7 separate regions of the Homo sapiens genome follow, and regions 2, 3, 4, 5, 6 and 7 are each linked to region 1. Evidence: promoter capture Hi-C in human tissues and cell types (Jung and others, 2019). All regions are on one chromosome and are shown on one strand. The core of a region is centred on a gene start or on the middle of the fragment in contact, and the rest is flanking DNA. Distances in the headings are between cores, read along the strand shown. Region 1 holds the start of FOXB1 (forkhead box B1). Region 2 overlaps LOC105370839 (a long non-coding RNA gene). Region 3 overlaps LOC105370839 (a long non-coding RNA gene). Region 4 overlaps LOC105370839 (a long non-coding RNA gene). Region 5 has its middle 150 kb from the start of BNIP2. Region 6 has its middle 140 kb from the start of FOXB1. Region 7 has its middle 140 kb from the start of FOXB1.

What was found. Contacts are between HindIII fragments. The study calls those that stand out against the background at their distance.
Region 2: a fragment that was not itself captured here is called in contact with the fragment with the promoter of FOXB1 in region 1 in 2 of the 25 tissues and cell types used here (mesendoderm cells and thymus).
Region 3: a fragment that was not itself captured here is called in contact with the fragment with the promoter of FOXB1 in region 1 in 2 of the 25 tissues and cell types used here (IMR-90 fibroblasts and lymphoblastoid cells).
Region 4: a fragment that was not itself captured here is called in contact with the fragment with the promoter of FOXB1 in region 1 in 2 of the 25 tissues and cell types used here (H1 embryonic stem cells and mesendoderm cells).
Region 5: a fragment that was not itself captured here is called in contact with the fragment with the promoter of FOXB1 in region 1 in 2 of the 25 tissues and cell types used here (pancreas and spleen).
Region 6: a contact is called between a fragment that was not itself captured here and the fragment with the promoter of FOXB1 in region 1, in 2 of the 25 tissues and cell types used here (dorsolateral prefrontal cortex and lymphoblastoid cells).
Region 7: a contact is called between a fragment that was not itself captured here and the fragment with the promoter of FOXB1 in region 1, in 2 of the 25 tissues and cell types used here (aorta and dorsolateral prefrontal cortex).

The regions. Positions count from the first base shown.
Region 1 is chr15:60,002,528-60,005,762 of GRCh38, reverse strand. It overlaps FOXB1 (forkhead box B1), which reads right to left and starts at 1,452. Exons shown (of 2, transcript NM_012182.3): 1 at 1,120-1,452; 2 at 1-856. The coding sequence starts at 799. RefSeq lists an enhancer at 1,256-1,771. The HindIII fragment of the contact is 14,342 bases long and covers 1-3,235 here.
Region 2 is chr15:60,245,307-60,248,541 of GRCh38, reverse strand. All of the region lies in intron 2 of LOC105370839 (a long non-coding RNA gene), which reads right to left. Among named protein-coding and RNA genes, the nearest start is that of ANXA2, 150 kb to the left of the region's middle. The HindIII fragment of the contact is 7,723 bases long and covers 1-3,235 here.
Region 3 is chr15:60,227,782-60,231,016 of GRCh38, reverse strand. The region is part of intron 2 of LOC105370839 (a long non-coding RNA gene); the gene reads right to left. Among named protein-coding and RNA genes, the nearest start is that of ANXA2, 170 kb to the left of the region's middle. The HindIII fragment of the contact is 7,970 bases long and covers 1-3,235 here.
Region 4 is chr15:60,192,845-60,196,079 of GRCh38, reverse strand. The region is part of intron 2 of LOC105370839 (a long non-coding RNA gene); the gene reads right to left. Among named protein-coding and RNA genes, the nearest start is that of FOXB1, 190 kb to the right of the region's middle. The HindIII fragment of the contact is 7,201 bases long and covers 1-3,235 here.
Region 5 is chr15:59,841,959-59,845,193 of GRCh38, reverse strand. No RefSeq gene overlaps it. Among named protein-coding and RNA genes, the nearest start is that of BNIP2, 150 kb to the right of the region's middle. The HindIII fragment of the contact is 6,288 bases long and covers 1-3,235 here.
Region 6 is chr15:60,143,176-60,146,410 of GRCh38, reverse strand. No RefSeq gene overlaps it. Among named protein-coding and RNA genes, the nearest start is that of FOXB1, 140 kb to the right of the region's middle. The HindIII fragment of the contact is 4,675 bases long and covers 1-3,235 here.
Region 7 is chr15:59,863,109-59,866,343 of GRCh38, reverse strand. No RefSeq gene overlaps it. Among named protein-coding and RNA genes, the nearest start is that of FOXB1, 140 kb to the left of the region's middle. The HindIII fragment of the contact is 4,657 bases long and covers 1-3,235 here.

The DNA of each region.
Region 1 (3,235 bases), core at 203-2,702:
GCGTGGGCTTAATGGGCACGGGGATGGCGGGCAGCGTTTGGCCCGCCGCGTGGCACAGCGGCTTCAACGGCACGCCGTAGGCGCTGTAGTCGCCACTCGCCATGGAGATGGGGGTGGCCGAGTCGATCATGCCGGCGGAGCCATACACGTGTGGCCAGCCGGTGCCCAGCGAGCTGCCCATGGTAGTCAACTGGTTGGGGAGCGGGTAGGCAGCGGGCACCGGCTGCATGGCGGAGAAGGCCAGCCCCCCAGGCATCTTGTATTCCCGCGCGATGATGTTCTCGATGGCGAAGGGGTGCTTGAAGCCCGAGGGCTGCGCCACGCCGCCCAAGTTGTAGGCGGCGGCGGGCATCTGTGGCAGGTGCGTGCCCGAGGCCGCCAGCGCGCTGAGCCGCAGCTTGGCCTGCTGCTGCAGGTACTGCGCCGCGTCGGCTGGCTTGCTGGGCGCCAGGTGGTCGGACTTAAGCACCTTGAAGCGCTTGCGGCGCCGCAGGAAGCTGCCGTTCTCGAACATGTCCCCGCAGCTTGGGTGCAGCGCCCAGAAGCTGCCCTTGCCTGGCTGGTCCGGCCGCCGCGGGATCTTGATGAAGCAGTCGTTGAAGGAGAGGTTGTGGCGCAGACTGTTCTGCCAGCGCTGCGTGTTCTCCCTGTAGTAGGGGAAGCGGTCCATGATGAACTTGTAGATCTCGCTCAGCGGCAGCATCTTCTCGGGAGAGCTCTGGATGGCCATAGCGGTCAGCGAGATGTACGAGTAGGGCGGCTTCTGGTCGCTGTACGTGTTGCGGCCGGGCCGAGGCATCTTCTTCCTCGCCCTCTTCTTGCTCTGGGTCCGCGCGGGCCGGCGGACTGCTCGGATCTGGGAAGGGGGTGGGTAATAGGGAAAGGTAGCATGGATGCACAGAGACACCGGCGGGGTCAGCCAGACCGAGTAACAGACTTCGGGGGTCGGGGGTGGGGCCTGCGGCGCTCGATCAGCCAGCGCCCGGACTCTTTCGCCAGCAACTTTGCGGGCTTAGTGGGCGCGGGAGGGGAAGCCGGCGAACGGCGCGAGGATAGCCGGGAAGTAAGTCGGTACTGGGGCCAGAATAGGGGGCAGGGACGGAACAGAGAGCTGCTCACCTTAAAGTTGCTTCAAGTTGCGCGTCCGCATCCGGGAGGACGCCGCTGCGCGCCGCTTCTCTCTCGGCGCGCACTCGACGCGCACTCCGCGCGCAGCGTCCGGGTCCGGTTGGACTCGGCGCGAACCTGGGCTCTTGAGCTCAGCCCCGCAGCGTCCCGTGCCGCCCGGTCCGCGACGCTCCTGGAGCGTCCTGCGGGCGGCCGAGCTCGGCTGCGGAGTCCCGGCGCGGATGGTGGCAGCGACGTGTTAGGGCTCCGGAGGGCGCTGCTGTGGGCTCCGCGTCTCCGCTGAGCTAGGTGGCTGCCTCCATGTCCTCCCTCGAACCATCTGATAGTTTTAAGCGGTGACAGGAGCAGAAAAGACCCCTGTAGCGGCGCTTCATTAATGTGCCACTTCTTAGCTATCATATGACAATCGCCTTGGGAGGAGGAGGAAGAGGAGGGGGAGCGGGGGCTGCAGAGGGAGGGGACTGAGCGAGAAGGGAGAGCCCGGCCAGCTCTGGTTTCTTTCACACCTATTTACATGGACACCTTGGCCAATAGGAATCACTTCCAGCTCAAGACTGGGCGAGGGGGAAGAGCCTCGGCCACTGGGCAGGCAGCTGGACGCGCCGGCCGGTGTGCGCCGTGTGAAGGTATGAGGAAGCGGCCGCCGCGGAAGAGGGAGCCAGGCGACCACTCACGTTCACAGATGGAGCAGCCGCGCGGATGATGTTTGACATGGAAATTGCTTGGCTGGGGTATTCTGTTTCCTCTGCGTTGTATCCGGTTTGTATCGTTAGGTAACTTTAGGCACGGCTTTCCCCTGAAGCCGACCCTTTTCCTGCGCTTAGCACTACCCGGGGTTGGTTGCATGGGTTATAATAATGAAAACACACCCTTGCCCCCCAGTCCCCGGAGAGTTAGGTCGAAATTTGACTTGACTTTCCTATGCAGCTGCTTCAGCTTTGTATAGTTAGTGTGTAGCTTTGAAAAAGTGATGGGGTTTACAAATACTTTCAAAATGTGATTGGACATCCCCATGTAAGAACCCATTTTGAATGTAACTGTATTGACCAAATTTTTAAAAATTAAAATAGTGTATCTGGGCGAAGAGTCCAGGTATTTGCTTTAAAAGTCCTCCGGGAATTTGGTTGGACACAGGATGGAGGCTCAGGAGCTGTTGGGGCAAATGTTGTGCGGACCTGGGGAGGGCCTGAGTTTGTTTGACACAGTTTATCACCAGGTAAGCCTCAGGGGCTCTCGCTTTTCCCAGGTGGTTTGAAACTTTAGGACTCAGGCACATCCTGGAAGTTTTCATTTTACACCCGGAACTCCCCTTCCCAGCCCTCCCACCCCCCCAACCTCCCACCCCCCATCCCCCAACTGCCGCTTTTTTTGGTATGGAGAACTTATTTAGGATTTAGAGTGTAGCAAAAGCCGCCTGCGATCCCACTAAGACAGCAGTATCTTCTACAACTTGGGGAAAGAACCATAGAGTTTTCCTTCTTGGGGAGCGGGGAATGTGCCTTGGGTCACTCCGCCTGGTGCGAGCAGCAGGCTCCCTTCGGTTCGGATTCGCCTTGGAAGGGTTAAATGAATCATTATTATTATTATCATTATCCTCATCGTCGTCGCTGCCGTCATCATCATCATCATCAAATTGCTATGAAATAAATAGTGAGTCGACCCCGCCTGCATGCACGCACTCTATAAGTACACACCAGGAGTTCCCACGGGTTTCTGCACATTCTCCGACCTTTAAGGTTTTTAAAAGACATTCATTTTACTGCGTTGTTAAAAACTCAATACTTACAGCCCACACAGAATCATCTTCAAAGTCCAGAAATGGGAGAACTTTTTTTTTCCCTAGACGTGGTGATCGTAGAGAATTCTGGGTGTTAAGTTTCAACACTTTAAGTGATATTAGAGCATTATTAGTGGAGCTGTTTGGGGTTAGCATAAAAAAGATCTTTCAGCGCGCGAATGCACACACACACAAACACACACACACACAACTTCATTAACTACAGTTTCGGAGGCGGTCAATAACTCACCAAAACGTAACTTAAACACGATGAATTTAGGAGATTAAACAATTTCATTAATATTGAAATGGCTCTGGCTCTGGGCTGCC
Region 2 (3,235 bases), core at 548-3,047, 240 kb before region 1:
GATTGTGCCATTGTACTCCAGCCTAGGTCACAGAGCAAGACTCTGTCTCCTCCCACTCCCCCCAAAAAGCAATATCAAAAGAAAGATGATAAATTGGGAAAAATATTTTAAGCTCCTATTGCAAAGAACTATCTTCTTTAGAATATAAAGAGATCCTAAATGTCAATAACAAAATACTTATTAGAAAGTTTACCAAAAGGAGCCACAGATAAAACTTAAATACATGCAAAGATGCTCCACCTTGCACATAATAGAAGAGACAGGTAAATTAAAACTGCACTGTAGTAATCTTTTTTTTTTTTTTTTTTTTTTTTACCACTTAGGCAAAGGCTAAAAGTTTGCTAACACGTCCTGGGCAAGGATGTAGAGAAATGATCACTTTCATAAATTGCTTGTGGGAGTATAAATTGGTGAAAATCCTCTGGAGGGCAATTTGGCAATGGAATGACAATTAAAAATATTCCCTTTTATGCAGCACTTCAACATCTAGCAATTTACCTTATAGATATACCTATGCATTTGTATAATTTATGTAATAGATAACTTATTGCAGAGTTGTTTGTCAGAAGATTGGAAAACTTGGACATCTATCCATAGGGGACTGCTTAATACTTATGATAACTTCCTACAAAACAATACTATGCAACTGTAAAAAAGAATGAGAATGTCGTTCTCATTCTACTAGTAAATACTTTCACAAGTAGTGTAAGTGCCATATAACATATCGTTTATATTAGGATTTTAAAAGATCTCTAAGATATGTTTCACTGTTAGGTAATAAAAGGAAGGTGAATAATAGCATAATATTTTGGATAAAATAGAGGAAGGAAATCATATACTGTGCTTGTATATATATATTTAAAGTCTCTGGAAGGATAAACCAGAAACTAACAATAGTGGTTGTTCGTTGGAGAAGGATGGGAACTGTGTAGATGGGTATATGGATGGCAGGGAGGCTTTTCAGACTATGCACTTTAGTGCTCTTTGATATTTGAACCACCTGACTATTTTACCTACTAAAACCAATAAATGAATAATTTTTTAAATCTAAATATGAGTGTAAGAACTTAAGTAAAACTTGCATGTTTGAAATGGCACCCCAAAAATGAGTACAACAGGATTATAACAGGAATCCAAAGAGCTGAGCTCTTTGGAATTTGTGTTGCACTGAACTTTTGAAAAAAATACCACATATGCAAGATATGTAATCCAGGAGTTCAGTCACTAAATGCTGTTCCAAGCTATGATACCTGAATCAGTGGATTTTAAACCCCCTATACCTGCATTCGTGGTTCTATGGTGATGATTAATGATGTTTTGCTTTATAAGCTGTAGGCCCTATGAGATGCTTACATAAGAAGAAAAGATGCAATTTTTTTCATTTGTCTTAAATTTACAAGTGGTTTTGTTTTTGTTTTTAATAGGCTTAAATATGCCAGGGGTGCTTTTCTGGATTGGTTGGTTGATTGACTGATTTCACTGAATATAATCAGACCACTGGGTTTGTGTTGTGCTTTAGTTCACAGTATGCACTAAAATACTTAAACCATCCAAAAGTATTTTACTTAATTTTTCATTCATTAAAAAATATAATTAAACAGGTTAATCAATTTCCAATCACAATATTTTTCTCACATCAAAGTAATAAATGTTTATTGTACAAAGTTGAGAAAATTTAGAAAAGAAGAAAAAATTATACAGAAATAATCTTGATAGCTTTTTGATGTCTTTTTCTCATCTGTATTATAGGTTAAAAAATTGTTCCTACTTTTTTTGATCAGTTTTTCATATAAGATTTTACATAACAGCATTTCCAATGTTAATTACATTCTTGAACATGATTTTTAATAACTCTTGTGTATTGCACTATTTGGATGTCCCATCATTTATTTAATCCTGTAGTCTTGGACATCTAAGGACAACCTATTTCTGAAGCACTTTGTTTAATTGGAGTTTTCCTATATCTTACTTAATGATGAATTTAGTTGGCTTTGCTTAAAATGCTCTGTAGAATTGTCACACTGGCTGCCTGAGAAGGATGTGATCCTTGGTCTTGTCCTGAGTGGATCCAATCCCAAAGGCCAGCTTTGAAACAGGTGTATTTTATGATCCAAAATGTGGTCATCTTTTTGTATGCTCTAGGTTGAGACTATATATTCTGTTGTTAGATAAACTATCCTCTAAATGTCAATTCATATTGATGGTGCTATTCTGTTCACTCTATCTTTACTAATTTTCTACATGCTGGATCTGTCAATTATAGAGACAGGTGTGATGAAGTCTTCAATTATAATAATGGGTTTCCCTATATTTTCCTGCAGTTTTATCAGTTTTTGTCTCACCTATTTTGACATTTTCTTGTTAGGTGCATATAAGCACCGTGTATCTTGTTGCAGAACTGATCGCTTTGACATTATGAAATACCCTTCATCCTGATAATTTTCTTGCTCTGAAGTCTGCTTTCTGAAATTAATATAGCCACTATAGCTTCTTTTGATTAGTTCTAACATGGCATATCTCTTTCCATCCCTTTACTTTTACCCTATCTGTGTCTTTATATTTACAGTGGATTTCTCATAGATAGCATACAGTTGGGTCTTGTTTTTCAGCCACATTGACAGTCTCTGTCTTTTAACTGGTTTATTTAGACCATTCATTCTTAAAACTATTATTGATATAGTTGGGTTAGTATCTACCATTTTTGTAATTGCTTTATATTTGTTCTTTGCTTCTTTTTTCTTATTGCCTTGGTTTTAATGGAGCATTTTATTATTCCATTGCTCTCCTTTTTTTAGCATATTGATTATAAGTCTTAACATTTTTTAGTGGTTGCTCTAGCATTTGTGATGTTTATTTACATAATCTAAGTCTACTTTCAAATAATACTATACCATTTCACAAGTAGTGTAAGTGCCATATAACAAAATATTCCCAATTTCTTCCTCCCATCTCTTTATACCATTAATGTCATCCATTTTACTTGTCCATAAGCTATAATTATTAAATATATTGCTATTATTTGGACAGTTATCTGTTAGGCCAGTTAAGAATAAGAAAAACAACACATTTTATTTTACCTTCATTAGTTCCTTTTCTAATGTTCTTTCTTTTGCTTTATGTAGATTCAAACTTCTGATCTATATAATTTTCCTTCTTTCTAAATAATTCCTTTTAACACTTCTTGCAGGTCTACTGGCAACAAATTCCCTCTTTTTTTGTTCTGAGAAAGTCTTTA
Region 3 (3,235 bases), core at 455-2,954, 230 kb before region 1:
TCAAGTTTGATAACTTGCTAGAACAATTCAGAAAACTCCAGAAATGTATTTTACTTACTATTGCTAGTTTCTTATAAAGGCAATGACTCAGGGGCAGCCAAATGGAAGAGATGCATGGGGGCTGGGGCGGCAGGGTGCAGAGCTTCCACGCCCTCTCTGAAGAGTGATATGACCTCAGTATGGGTGATACTTCTTCAGCTTGGCATATGAACACCAAACAGCCCTGTAGTTTATTCCTTTTCCTGTAGGGTAATGTCTCCCTAAGCTTAATAAAGCATACTTCTTTTCATCTTATTTTACTTTTTTTTTTTTTTTTCCGGTAGACCTCTCATGATTTTAAAGTTGTTCCCTGAACTCCCACCCTCAACAGCTGCTGGTTGTGCCGAGCTAAACATGTTACCCTATGGGAAGAGTGTGTCTTCCTCTGTAACAGTGCCTACCGCTGGAGGTACTGAATTTTGTGGGTTTGACTCTTTCTTGCCTTGTTAATTGCTAATTGATTTCATTGTCCTTAGCTTCGGTAACCTCTAGGTCATCGTCAAGCCCAAGAACACAACACATATCTCATTTCCAAACTCAATTCTTCCCTGAATGACATGGGGGGACTTTGTAAACAGGTTGAGTTGTGAGTATCATTTATATTCATTAGCACTAATTAGTATGTACATTCAGCCAGAGGCCGAAACACATCTTTTCTAAATGGAAAGGGTGTGTAAATAAATGGCTACTTCTGCACATTACATTAAATATGGTTTCTCTTTTTCTTCCCTTTCTTTCCTAGTCTGCTATGATGATTCCATGTCTCCCCCACTTCCTCATCTCCACTCCCAATTAGAAAATTTGCTCACTATTTCCCCTATCTGGTTTTTAAATTTTTTTTTTCTTAATAGGAGGGGAAGAAAGGGAAGAACATAATCATTAATTTCTCTGGTGTCTGGTCTGTTAACCTTTTCTCTTTCTTTTGGTCTCATTATTTTATTCTACCAATACTTCTTATGTCATCAGAATTATCTTGGAGGATACCTGATGAATCCCACTTCTTTGATCGATGGTTGCAGAGTTGGTGAGAGTGAGCCTGTCTGGTCACTGCCTGAGATGGTGCATAAGCCATGGCTCTTCAACACACACTTGGGTGGCTGGGCCACCATGCCCATGAGGGTCAGTGGCCCTTCCCACGTGACAATTGGCAGGTGGATATAGGCCTCTTCTACTTCGCAAAGATGTGGTTGGCAAGGGAACAGCATGCCAGAGGGAGAGGAGAGGAGTCGGCTCTTCAGTACACCCCTTTCAGAAGGTTGCCAGCCCTGATTTCATCCAGTGGTTTATTTACCACTGAAGGAGTGAAGGATGTGCCATCCCAAATATGCCAGATTAGTATATTGATTATTTCAAGTTGAAAACATTGGAGAAATTGTTTCAGAGAGGGTGAGCTGAGCTGTCTCTTCCTGCATGCAGCAAGGGACAAAGATTCCTCTAGGAGGGGAGTCCTCACTATACCATGGTGAGAAAATATTCCTATTACCCACAGACTGGTGATTGGAGGCTGCAATGGACCCTGAATTAACATACTTCCTGAAGCAACGCTATCTTCCACCTATTTCACCCCTGCTATATCTCCTAGTGATTCCCCTAGAAAATTTGCTATCCTTAGCCAGATTTTCTTTTCTTTTTTTTTTTTTTTTTGCCTTGCCATTTTTTCCTCAAATTTATTGCTCTTTGTCTCCATCTTGCTTTGGTCACTTCTTCAGACTTTACTCTCTTATGCAGATCCCCATGGACATGCAACATGAATGAAATGTGTGTACTTCTCTCTTGTTCATTCATCTTCCTAGTGTCAGTATTCAGATCCAGCTGAATATCCCACCAAGAGCTGAAAGGAGGATTGGAGGTGATCTCTGGCTTCCCTACATCGTGCCTGTCATCTTTCCAGAATGCTGTGCTCTCAAAGGGTTACATCCACATCACAGGGGCTGGTCCTCAGCTTTGGAGTTGGTCACTTATTTCTACTTGCAATTCTGCTCAGCTTCGATTTTAGAGAACAAAAGTCTGATGTGCTGCTTTCAAAATGTAGATATAATGATGTTAAATATAAAATGTTGCAAATAAGTTGTCAAAGTTTATTACACCTCTCTCTCTTCCCTGAGCATAAATGACATTGACTAGTCATAGCAGCAAATTCTTATTTTGGAGTGTGCTTTCAGTTTCTTGGTCTAATTATAGTATCAGAATAAAAAGTTCCATTTCCCCCCACAGTGGAACCAGTTGTCAGAACTTTGTTTCTTAAACTGTGGAGTTTTAAGTTTTGATGATAGCTACATTAGGGGTAGTTCTGGCATTTAAAATGAGACCCAAACAGAAAATGGAAGGTTGTCGGTTAATTCCCTTGGAGTAAATTAAAAGATGTATCTGCAGTTAAAATAGTAAAATCAATAGAACAAAAAATACATCTAAAGGTCATTTAAAGTAAAGGCGATTTTTTTAAAGCTATTAAAAAGTACTTAATCGTGTCTTTTAAAGTTTATCTATATTTATAAAGAACGATTTTTCAATTAACATACATTGGTTTAATTCGTTGAACCTGTTGGCAGTGGTTAGGGATGATTTATCCTCCTACTTTCTTCCAATGCATATCTTTGCACATGCAAGCATTAGTTGAGGAGTTTATGATTTGGAGAAAATAGATAAGACAACCTGGGCAGATTGCCAAGCACAGGCTATATGGAATGTTCTGGGAGCCAAGATTGAAGTAGAGCCTGGATAAGGAATGATACCACAGTAGGAGTGACCCACACTCTGGGCCAGCAGTTTAAAGATGTGGGTGGGTAGTTTGAGGTTTTGGAGCAGGTCATGACCATGCAGCAATCTAGAAACCCAGACTCTGGTTCTGGCTTCATTATTGACGAGCTGTGGAATCTTGAGCTAGAACATCTACTTCTCTAGGGTGAGTTTTTCGTGTGCACCATGGGAATCACAAAGCCTGTGCTATGGAAATTGTGAAAAGGCAATGAGACCCAGAAATAGAATTCCCATTAGAACCGACAGTGCCTACTTATGAGAGTACACCATCTTAGCTTAGGCTTCTCACTGAATCAGTTTTTGTAGTGATTTTTTAGATGTTAAAATGTGAAATAAGAAACTAAAAGACTACGGGTAACACTCTATTATACTAATATTCAGATTTAAGTCTTATAATAACGAGGGTAAATCATATGACAGTAGCAGAGATGGGGTTTGT
Region 4 (3,235 bases), core at 389-2,888, 190 kb before region 1:
ACAATTCCTAAGTACATGATAGGAGCTCAGTAAATGCTTGTTGAGTAAATAAATGAATGTCTTAAAGATTTCATTGGAAGATTCTTTATTTATGCCTCTCTCCCTTCTACCTTGAATCACTAGTTTGAAAGTAAGTTCAAGAAGGAAATTACAAGCCTGCTCATCTCTGGATCTGGAGGTCTGGAGCATCTGTCTGAACAAAGAATGGGGATTGTGGTTGCTGAGCAACAAAATAAAAAAGTCCCAGAAGAACACAGCTAGCAACATCCCCAGGTCAAATTCTTGGATTTTGGATTCAACACTGTTTTCTGTTTATAGCTTTAGCTGCTTTTGGAATGGGGACAATTTGCCTCTGCTGTGTCCTCTTCTTGGCACAATTATTTCAACCTTTAGAGTATTGCTAGTCATTGCTAGTCTGTTTTGAAGGGAGAGAGGCATGAACTCTAAAATTACATCAGTTATACCCGGAGTTCTTAAAGGAAAAGAAACATGGAATCATTGGATGAAATCGTGTAATGGTGAATAAAGAAGGTTGAAAAATGTATGTAAGAACATTTATCAGTTAAAAAAACCAGTGCTCTTCAGAGTACTTAGTTTTCAGCATGGGACTTTAATTTCATGATGATCCACCTTTTTTGGTTGCCTTCTCCTCCTCCCCTTCCTCCTCGTCTTCCTCCTCCCCCTCCTCCTCGTCTTCCTCCTCCCCCTCCTTGTTAGTGTGACTGGAAAAATGTTTATGTACACGATAAAAATACAAATTTGAACCTCCAAATTTGTCTCTGAATATTAAGTGACAAGATGATGTGCAGTATTTTTCAGAACTACCTGGGGGAACACAACTATTCTGTTACAGTTAATAATACTTGCAATTCTGTTCAAAACCACTTTTAAAAACCTGATAGCTGCTTCATGGGGTGACATTGTCTTCCAGCTTATAGTTTAGAATTCTTGGTTGAGTCCATGCTTGCAAAGTAGCTATTTGGCTTATTAATTTAACCATTCGTGCTTACCAAAATCATCTTGAATCCATGGAGGTGTTCTCATGATGTCTTTAAAGACATACTTCTAAAATTTGAAATAAACCTTTCATTGCATGTATACCATATAATGACATTTTATGTTGCAGTATGTAATAGAAATAGACTAGAATGCATGTAATCATCATAAGGCATACTTTTTGTTACCAGCCCTTAGTTCCTTTTTCCAAGTGGGTGGAGACATGCAAACGTGTGTGGAAAGGGAAAAGGAGGGGGGCAGAGATTGGAGTGGAGATTAAGTTAGAGAAGAAGAGGGAAGGCTTGGGGCAATTGTGCAAGTTTGGGAAAGGAAGCTTTAAATATTGAGGTCTGGAGCAGGGTATTTTCAATCATTTAGTCAAGCAATAATGATTGATTCTATAAGAGGCACTATGCTGGTAAATTTAGAAGTGAAAAAGGATCATGATGCTTAGCCTTATGAAGTTTATAGTCTAACAAGAGAAACGGGCATTAAACAAATACTCATACAAATAAATATGCATTTGTAAATTATAATTTAAAAAACAACAGATATAATAAGATTACATAAGGGAGTCCTGATTTAGATATACGAGAAGCCAGGGAAATTTTTTGTTATTAAAGGCACTTGTCAGCTGAGATGTGAAAAATGGCTTAGAATTGGCCAACCACAGAGAAGGGAAAAGAGTGTTTCAGGCAAAGAAAACATACAAAGACTCTGAGGTGGGAAAGAGCTTGGCACCTTTAAGAAATGGAAAGGAGGTCAGAGTGGCAAATGCAGACAGGAAGAGGAGAGGGAACAGGGCCTCTTCAGGTAGCCTGTGGTGGGAAAGGGGCTTAGAGTTTCTCCTTAACACCATGGGAAGGCACCCAAGAGTTGTAAGTTGGGAGTGGCATGATCAGATTCGGTTTTCAAGAGCACTCTGGTTAAAGTATGGGGTGCAGAGTAGGAGAACAAGAGAGGTGATGGGAGTGTGCTAAAAGTAACAACACGATGTGAAATACTGAAAGACCCCTTGCCTAAACTTTCCACATCTTCCTATTGCTGATGCTTAAAACTTACTTCCTTTGGTTTGAAATATTAAAGATTCCCTAATGTGTTATGCAAGGGAGGGGATCAACCATTATTATGCATTACAATATGAAGTACTAGGTCCTCTTCCAAGCTGCTAATAGAGCATATGGTGCAACCACTTTAGAAAGAATCTGTTGTGACCTTATCTCTACTAGCTCTATTAGTAACATCTGATTTTCTTAAACACAACAATTTGAGGCAAATATTGCAAAAATAATACTTATTAAATGTGTGTTGTAGAGAACTTTATATCAATGGTAAGGATGAAAATATGGAAATATTTTTTAATCAAAAAATGAAATTCTGGCTGGGCATGGTGGCGCATGCCTGTAATCGCAGCACTTTGGGAGGCCCAGGTGGGAGGATTGCTTGAACTCAGGAGTTTGAGACCAGCCTGGGCAACATGGGGAAACCCCGTCTTTACGAAAAATACAAAAATTAGCTGGGCATGGAGGTGCACACCTGTAGTGCCAGCTACTCCAGGGGCCTGAGGTGGGAGGATTGCTTGTGCCCACAAGGTTGAGACTGCAGTGAGCGGTAATCATGCCACTGCATTTCAGCCTGGGTGACAGAGTGAGACCTTGCCTCGAAATAAAATAAAAAATAGAGTGAAGAAAGCAGAAAAGGAAGAGACCTTTTTTGTGGACAGTTTTACCTAGAGTCCCTCCTTTCAAAAGCTAACTTCTGGTTTTATCAAAGACTGGCCTCTGTTAAGAATATGACTTCACTTTAGGAAAGTTTAGGCATTTCTAGAATTTGTTTCCCATCTCCTTGCTTGAATGGAAATGAACCTGTGATGGAAAAAAAAATGAGGAAAACTAAAAAAGATGCAATCCCAGCATTGAGGTGCTGGGGGCACAACTCCAGGGGCCAGTGTGATCTATACAACACAGCTGTCTTGACCAGAGCTGATTTTCAATTTTTCTTTTTGGCAGGGGAAATGGGCATTGAATTAGGTGGGGATGCTTGAGGGGCCTCAACTGTATCTGTAATGACTCACTTCCTTAAGAAAAAGATCTGAAACAAATGTTAAGCTATCTGAAGCAAAATGTTAAGCTATGACAAAAATAAATGGTTAGTTACATGTGTGATTGTTAAATGATTTTTCTATCTAGATATTTCATAATAAAAATAACCTTTGAGATTTCTCAGAAACTTAATAAAT
Region 5 (3,235 bases), core at 274-2,773, 160 kb after region 1:
ATACAAAAGTGCAATGTATGTCTTAGTTAGACTAGATAACTTATAAATAATAGAAATTTATTTCTCATAGCACTGGAGGCCTAGAAGTCCATGATGGATCAAGGTGCCTGCAATTCAGTGTCTAGTGAAGATTTCCGTCTCTGCTTCATGGATGATGCCTCTTGCTGTGTCCTTAGGTAAGGGAAGAAAGGATGAACACTGTGTCCTCACATGATAGGAGGGGCGGAAGGCAGGAAAAGGGGCCAAACAGCCTCCCTCAACCCTTTTAAAAGGGCACAATCCCGTTCATGGATCCTTTGTGACCTAATCACCTCCTAAAAACTCCACACCTTAATACTATCTCTTTGGGGATTATGTTTTAACACAAATCCTGGAGGGACACAAATATTCAAACCATAGCAATGTACTAACTTATCTTCTAAATATGTTCTACAAGGTGTAATTCCATTTGAGGTGTTTATACTTAATATGGGAAGCAAATCCATTTCAGTTTGACTTTGACATTTTGAACCTTCTCATCCAAGCCACCAGGTCCCACGCCAGCAGGAATGAGAGGCTGGATGAAGTTGAAGATATTAATAATAACAACTATGATTTATCAACTGTTTTCTGTGTACTGGGCACTGGGCTAAATGCTTTCCATGCATAGCTTGTTTAATCTTCAAAACAACCCTCTATGGTGTTTTCTTTTTTCATTATTTTTTAATTGTGAAAGGTACTGGAGTGAGTTCATAGGTGAGGAAAATGTTATTTCGAGATAGTAAGAAATTTGCCCATGGTGTCATAGCTATTACCAGTACGTACCACAATCATCCACTTTCATCCAGATCTGCATCTTGGTGACTGACAACTAACCTTGGCTCTCTCCAAAATAGCTTCTGGTACAGTAAATAGAGGAAAAGAAGAAATATATTTATTCTTCATCCATGAAAGAGGGGCCTGAGGAGAGTGACAGTCTCTCATTAGAATTTGGAAGAATTTCATGGCAAATATTGAAGCAATGAGTGTGAAATTTGTTCAGTATTCCAACAGCAGGCTTCCCAGTGAAGTCACTATACAAATATCTTCTCAATTAGTTGAAAGCTCTGTGAAAGAAAGACGTGTTCCCCCCACTGTTTCTCCCAGCAGCCTCAAGCATGTTTTAGGAGGCTGTTAAGGAAACGATACAGGACTGGGAAGAAACAGAACGTTTCTGGAATCCTCAAGGATGCAGACTCTTCTCACATTAGGCAAAAATTATTCTTGATTCATAGCTTAGATTCAAGACCACCCAGTCAGAGGGAAGCTGGCCCTGCCTGACTCTCCTAGATGGCTGGATGGAGCCCAAGGTCTGGCCTCCTCAAGGCAGCTTGGGAATGGCATCTTCTTTAATCCACATCCCTTCTGGCCACGTCCCACACCTGTTAGCCTGGAGGGCATCGCCTGCAAGAGAGCAGGTGAAGTAATTCATCTTAGGGCTGGCAATTACACGGGTTGGTTATGCACTTGGATCACAGGGGGCCAAGTGGAGTCTCTGTCAGGTGGATTTCTGGATTTCTGCCTCACTTCACCCTAGCAGAATGAAACAGAGGCCAGCTATGGCCATCTTTCTCTTCTTTGCCATTTTCTCCCACCGCTCTCCCCACACACTTCTGCTACCTGTAATTTTTACTGAATAAGAGAAAGCTTAAGCCAACTTGAGATAGGCAAACCGAAGAATTTTTCCAGTTGGCTAATCTAAAGCATAAGGCTCCATGCTCAAAAGTGACCTGGTTGAGACCAATGTATGCTTGGCTCCTCCTACAAACACTCCTACAGACCCCTGGGGCACCTGCGTGGTGCTTTTTCCAGAGCTGTGTGTGAGGTGACCTGAATGAGAGAATCCCTGGGTATTGCACCGTGAAGATTAAATGTGCTAATGCAGGCAAGCAATGAGAACAATGCCAGGCACATAAGAAAAGATTAGTCAATGTTAGCTACTATTAATGTCAGCCAACTATCCCTTCCATTGATTAATAAGGAAACTGAGGCCCAGAAACGTAAAGTGACCTTCTCAAAATGGCATAGAAACTCAGCAGCCATTTTGGAACTGGAATCTCAGACTCATGGTTCTTTTCACATGTTATTCATTCACTCAGTAACCATTTATTAAGTTTTTAATTCTGTACTGGACACTGACCAACGATGCAAAAGTGGAAAAGACATGAAAAGAGAGTGGAAGAGCCCAGGAGGAGCTTCTTGTTTAACAAAGGGAAAATGGTGACCCATGTATATCACATGATGATAGCTGGCTGGGGTCTAAGGCCGATTTTCAAGTTATCTGGGTCTTTTTGAAATTTCTACCAGGTAAAGTCAATAGTAATGATGCTTGATGCCAAGTTAAAACAATTATTTTAAAATATTAAATATTAGTAATTATTTATGCATTTATTGAGTATTTATGCAATTCACCTCATATTCCAGTATTTTTTCAAAGGTGATTGCACATACTGGTAACATTCTGACAGCTAATCATCCCAGCGATGATTCTTACGAAAACGTTCCATAGATTCACCACTGCTCCTCCCATGAGATCCATTTCAATCCTCAAGATACTCCATGACAGAATGTTAGGATACTTGAGGACAGCTTTGTGCTTTGGAAAAAGCTTCCCTTTCTCCTTTCCTCCCTTCCTTCCTTTTTCCTTTTCTTTTCTTTGCTTTCCTTTTTTTTTGAATCAGTGTCTTACTCTGTTGCCCAGGCTGGAGTACAGTGGCGCAATCTCAACCTTCCAGGCTCAAGTGATTCTCCAACCTCAGCCTCCCAAGTAGCTGGGACTACAGGTGTGCACCACCACACCTGGCTAATTTTTGTATTTTTTGTTGAGATGGGGTTTCGTCATGTTGTCCATGCTGGTCTCAAACTCCAGGGATCAAGTAATCCTCCTGCCCTGGCTTCCCAAAGTGTTGTGATTATAGGCATGAACCTCCTTACCCAGGCTCTTTCTTTCTTTCTAAGATCAAGATCCTCCATTTAATGAACAAAGATCTTGAATAATCATAATCACCTTAGAAACAGGATTTTACATTCCATTAAGCAAGACTAGCCAGATGTAGGCCTGGAAATCTAAATTTCCCTAAAATAGTAACAACAAAACTTTGAAAGGGCAGGAGAATGCAAAGTCCTCAAATGCTTGGTGAGCATTTAGGGAGTTTGCATTCTACTGTCCTTTCTTTAGAAAATGACAGAAGCTCCCTTGGCATGGGTCTCACACGGG
Region 6 (3,235 bases), core at 459-2,958, 140 kb before region 1:
AGGCTCTAGACAACAGAATATAAAACAAGGACTTTGAAATAACTGTGCTCAGAACATTCAAGGAAATTAAAAAGCAAGATTAAAAAATTTGGAAAGGGCCGGGGATGGTGGGTCATGCCTGTAGTCCCACCACTTTGGGAGGTCAAGGCAGGTGGATCACCTGAGGGTCAGGAATTCGAGACCAGTCTGGCCAACATGGCAAAACCCTGCCTCTACTAAAAATACAAAAATTAGCAGGGCTTGGTGCACACTTGTAATCCCAGCAGTTTGGGAGGCTGAGGTGGGTGGATCACTTGAGGTCAGGAGTTTGAGACCAGCCTGGCCAACATGGTGAAACCCCATCTCTACTAAAAATACAGAAATTAGCCAGCCATTGTGATGGGCACCTGTAGTCCGAGCTACTAGGGAGGCTGAGGCAGGAGAATCGCTTGAACCTGGGAGATGGAGGTTGCAGTGAGTCGAGATTGCGCCATTGTACTCCAGCCTGGGTGACAGAGTGAGACTCCATAAAACAAATAAATAAATAAAATCAAAGATAAAGACTTAAGAGCAAAAGAAAAGATAGTCTTCAAAAACACTGACAGACTCTCAACAGAACAAAATCAGGCCAGGTGCGGTGGCTCATGCCTGTAATCCCAACACTTTAGGAGGCTGAGGTGGGCGTATCACCTGAGGTCAGGAGTTCGAAACCAGCCTGGCCAACATGGCAAAACCCTGTCTCTACAAAAAACGTAAAAATTAGCAGGGCGTGGTGTCATGCGCCTGTAGTCCCAGCTACACGGAGGCTGAAGCACAAGAATTGCTTGAACCCGCGGGGCAGACGTTGCAGTGAGCCAAAATTGTACCACTCCACTCCAGCCTGGGCAATAGAGCAAGACTCTGTCTCAAAAAAAGAAAAAAAATTAGAACCTGGAAGATAAATGAATATTATTATGAAAGTGCCTAGACATTTATACCCAGTAAAAAGACCCTCCAAAAAGAAGGTGAAACAAAAATATTTTCAGCCAGGAAATAAACTGGTAATTTAGGCCTATACTAAAGGAAATAATAAAGATGTTCTTCATGCAGGAAGGAATGATACCAAATAGAAGATTGCAAATGGACAAAGAATGAAGAACAGAAATGGTAAACATGTAACTAAATCTAAATAGATATTGATAGTATAAAACAATTATAACAATAATACTATTGGATGAAATTTATGTATAGAGAGAAGTAAAATATGTAATAGCCATACCATACAAGTTCTAAAGCCTTGCCTAGTCAAGGAAGTGGTGAAAATACTGATTTGTATTAGACTTTGATAAATTAAGAATGCATTTTATAATCTCAGGAGAACCACTGAAAGAATAGTAAAAGAATTCATAAAAATAATTTATAACTACAAAGAATAGTAATAGAATGTATAACTTTCCCAAGCCAAAGGAGGAGAAAATGGAATAATCATAACAAAATCAATCTAGTGGAAGGCAAGAAGAAAGGGAAAAAGAGAGATGAATAGGTACAAATAGAAAAAAATAGAAAGGTGGTGTATTTAATCCCAAATATATCAGAAATTGCATTATAGAAAAATGAAACAAATATCCCAATTAAAATACAAAAATTTTCAGACTCAATACAAAGACCAAACCCAACTGCATGCTGCTAAAACAAGGCATATCTCAAATATAAGGATATGAAAAAGTTAAAAGTCTGAGAAAAAAATATAGCATGCCAACCTAAACTGAAGAGGAGCATTTTATGATAAAAGCTTCAACTCGCCTGGAAAACGTAACAATACGAACTCTGTCAGAACATTGGCAGGTCTAAGAAACCAATAAATCCACCATCATGGTGGCTGACCTCAACACATCTCTGGGTAACAGAAAGAACAAGCAGACCAAAAATCATTAAGAATGTAGATGTTTACAGCAACATGTTTAACAAACTTGACTGAATTGAGAGATATTATACAAAACTCAATGCTGAAGACTAGACATTCTTTTTAAATGCAAGTGAGAATTTCCCAAAATTGACGACTTTTGGCCATAAAGCAAAGATGAATACATTTCAATGTATTAAAATGATATAAAGTATGTTCTCCGACCATAGTCGTACTAAGCTAGGAAGAAATAACCACAAAGAAAGTGAGCCAATTATCATATGTTTGGAAATTAAGCAATACATATCTAAATATGATAAGAAAGAAGAAATCACACAGGAAATTAGAGAATATTCTGAACTGAATGATAATGAAAATACTACATATCAAAACTTGTGAGAGGCAGCTACAGCCTTCTTAGAAAGTATAGTACTAAAAACAGATGTTAAAAAGGAAGGAAGGATGAAAGCCAGTAATCTAAGCACCTGTCTCAAGAAGTAAGAAAGGGTCAGAAACTAAAACTAGATAGTGTAAAAGGAAAGAAGTTTTCATAAGAGCAAAAATTAATAAGAACAAAATGCATGAGGAAATCAATACAGCCCAAAGTTTCTTTTAAGAAAACCTATGAAAATGGATAAATCCATGGTGAGTCTGATCAAGGAAAAAATAAAGATTGCTTAAATAACCAATATGAAGAATACAAATAAGCAAGTTACAAAAAAATCTTTTCACCATTAAAAAGATAATAGTGGAATATTACCACCAACTTTATGCTAAGAAGTTAGAAAATTTAGATGAAGTAGAAAAATTCCTAGAAAAATACAACTTTCCAAAATGTATACAGGAAGAAATAGAAAAACCTGTATAATACTAAACATTTAAATAAATTTATAATGAAAAACTTTCTACCTACAAAACACCAGGCCCAGCTGTCTTCAATAGTGGGTTCTACTTAATATTTAAGGAAGAAGTAAAACCAGTCTTATACAAAATATTTCAAAGAATAAAAAAAGGAACATCCCAACTATTTTTATAAAGCCAGAAGGATCCGATACCAAAACCTGGCATGATAAAAACATAAGAAAGGAAAATGACAGCCAAATCTTTCCCATAAGTAAAGATTCAAAAATCCTAACCAAAATATTAGCAAGCCAAATCCAAGGATAAATAACAAGTATGGTACATTATGACTAAGTGCAGCAATTACAAAGTGTTGGCTAAGTGAAAAACTTATGAGATTCCAAAGGAATATACACAACACGTAAAGCTTTAATGAAGGTGAAGGATACGATACAGCAGGAAAAAGAATGCACGAAGAAAACATGAGAGAAATCTCAGATTTCTAGACATAGCTTCCAATTTCCTTTTTCAGTC
Region 7 (3,235 bases), core at 526-3,025, 140 kb after region 1:
CAATCTCAGCTCACTGCAACCTCCACCTCCCGGGTTCAAGCTATTCTCCTGCCTCAGCCTCCCAAGTAGCTGAGACTACAGGTGCGTGCCACCACACCTGGCTAATTTTTGTATTGTTAGTAGAGACAGGTTTCATTATGTTGGCCAGGCTGGCTCAAACTCCTGATCTCAGGTGATCCACCTGCCTTGGCCTCCCAAAGTGCTGAGATTACAGGTGTGAGCCAGTGTGCCCGGCCAGCTCTTGTGATTTTTAAAATCTTCATCTTTACTTTTAGGACAAGGAAAATTAGGCTCAGAGATCTTAAGGAATTTGCCCAAGGTTCACACAGCCTGTAAGAGTGGAGTAGATGTTGAAATTTCACCTCAGTTTCCTCTGGGACACATTCTCCATTCCATTACAGCCTGACGAGCGTGGCCTTGCCCAAGGTCACAGAGCAAATAAGCAGCAGAGTGGGGAATTGAACCCAAGTCCTCTAGCTGGGTTCCATACCTTTTTAATCAAACTGTTGCTGCCACTGAAATAACAGACTACAGAATCAAGGACCTGAGCTGAAGTCGCACTTGATAACAAATTGCCCAGACTTGGAATTCTTTGCTTCTACCCGACGAACTAAAGAGAAGACAGCTTCCGTGTAGGGAAAACTCTCTCTAACCATGTTTTTCCTCTGTTCTCACATCACAATAATCATCAGCACAGGAGAAGACTTCTGTGACTATATGTGTGGGTTTTTTTTCCTCACACACCAAGCAGTGGACACCAGCTGGGTGTCCTCTAATTCATTTCTGGCACTGTCTACCTGGAGACGACGTCAGATCTCACAGGTTGAGTGTTCAGTCCCCAGCCAAGACTGGCCCCCTCTAACACACACCAGTGACAAGCCTGGGCCTCCGGAACTTCTGACCAACTGGCTTCAAGTTGGGGTTCCCATGATCCCCTCTTTGGGTTCAAATAATTTGCCAGAGCAGCTCACAGAACTCAGGGAAACACTTACCTACATTTACCAGTTTATTATAAAGGATATTGCAAAGGATACAGATGAAAAGATGTTTAGGGCAGGAAATGGGGGAAGGGCTCCAGAGGGTCCATGCCCTCCCTGGACCCTCTGGAGGAACCTGCAGTTCGGCTATCCAGAAGCTCACTGACACCAGCCCTCTTGGGTTTTTATGGAAGCTTCATGATGTAAGCATTTCTTCCCCAAGGTATAGAGGGGTGGGACCCTCTCATGGGAGGGTCTTAGGACCCACAATCAGAAAGACAGGGGAAAAGTAGAGTCTTGCCTTGGAGCAGATGAAAGGAGGGCAGGAGGAGGTCAGAGGCTGCCCATGTGGCCTCATACACCCAACATTATAACAAAAGACTGCAATAAGGGCTATGGCTATCAGCCAGAAACCGTGGACAAAGACCGGTATGTATTATAACACCACAGCCTTCCTACCACACATAGCAGCAAAGTGGCTGTGTTTAGACTTAGAAATATATATACCTGAGCTATTTTACTAGGATTATTTTTCTTCTGGAATTTAGGTTCTTTATCAAGGCAGTGTTCAGTTGGAGAGAGTTTTTTTTTTAATTAACAGCAAACTAATAATGTAGGATTTCCACAAGTACTCTCCCGTTTCTGTGAGTTCATTACAATTTGTTCTTCGCACTGACTTCTCAACACAGCACCATGAGATTTTCCTGCATCTGCACGTTTACGTAAGCAAAAAAAGTGCATTCAAATCCTTCTCTCTAAAGCATATTTCCACACGACAGCACTCATCTTGCTAGAGAGTGAGGTTGTCTGAAGACTACTTTGGGGTGCCTAAGCCAGCATGAATGGGGGCACCAGGTTATGTTCCACTGAATTTAATTTAATTAATTAATTTATTAATTTATTTTTTTGAGATAGAGTCTCACTCTGTTGCCCGGGCTGGAGTGCAGTGGTGCAATCTTGGCTCACTGCAACCTCCACCTCCCAGGTTCAAGTGATTCTCCAGCCTCAGCCTCCTGAGTAGCTGGGATTACAGGCTCCCACCACCATGCCTGGCTAATTTTTGTATTTTTAGTAGAGATGGGGTTTCGCCATGTTGGCCAGGCTGGTCTCGAACTCCTGACCTCAGGTGAGCCACCTGCCTCGGCCTCCCAAATTCTTAGGATTACAGGCGTGAGCCACCGCGCCCAGCCTTATGTTCCACATTTGAATTCCTCATTTGCAAGAGGGGGATTTTAGTAATAAAATGCTGCTGAAATTGGTCTATGTCTAAATCAGTGTCCTGAGAAACAAGATGGTAATGAGGTGGAAAGGATGGATAGTAGGAAATGTATCTGGAAAAAATAATTCCATCAGGAAACCTTGTGATGGACCTCTCCTTGAGAGTTGGAACAGAACTCCTCTTAGGCATTTGTTTAATATCAACCCATGCCTTTTTGTTTGTTTGCTAGTTTTTCTATTTTGTTAAACTGTAAAATTCCTCTCACTTTTTGCTCATTTCTCTGATCATCAATTTTGAAATTGAGACATATTTTAATATGGATTTTTTGGTCATCGTTTCCTTTCTTCAAATACTACTATTAAATGACAGAGACTGTCAAAGTGGACAGGCCATTTCTTCACTGGCTGTGTGGAAGGAGTGATTTAGCTGTGTCTTCACTATTGTGAAGGCTGGCCTGAGGTACTTCTTATGCAAAATCATCTCTGGTACGACATATCCTCCAGACCAGAAGTTGTAAGGCAGAAGGCTCAGACCAAATCAGGCTCATGGACATATTTTATTTGGCTCACACAATTGAAAAAAAATCTTTTTAATAGTTGCCATCTTTTTTTTTTTTTTTTTTTTGAGATGGAGTCTCACTCTGTTGCACAGGCTGGAGTGCAGTGGCGCCATCTCAGCTCACTGCAGACTCTGCCTCCTAGGTTCCAGCGATTCTCCTGCATCAGCCTCCCAAGTAGCTGGGATCACAGACGTGCGCCACCACACCCAGCTAATTTTTGTATTTTTAGTAGAGACGGGGTTTCACCATGTTGGCTAGGCTGGTTTTGAACTCCTGACATCAAATGATCCGCCCACCTCAGCCTCCCAAAGTGCTAGGATTACAGGCGTGAGCCACCACGCCCAGTTCTTGCCATCTTTTTAAATTGGGAGAGTTCACATAAAAATCCTTGTTTCTGGCATCCTTTGAAGAAATCCAAAGCTCTGCAAACTAGGCATGCAATTGCCCATAGTGACAGGAGCTACCAATCCTACGGGTGGG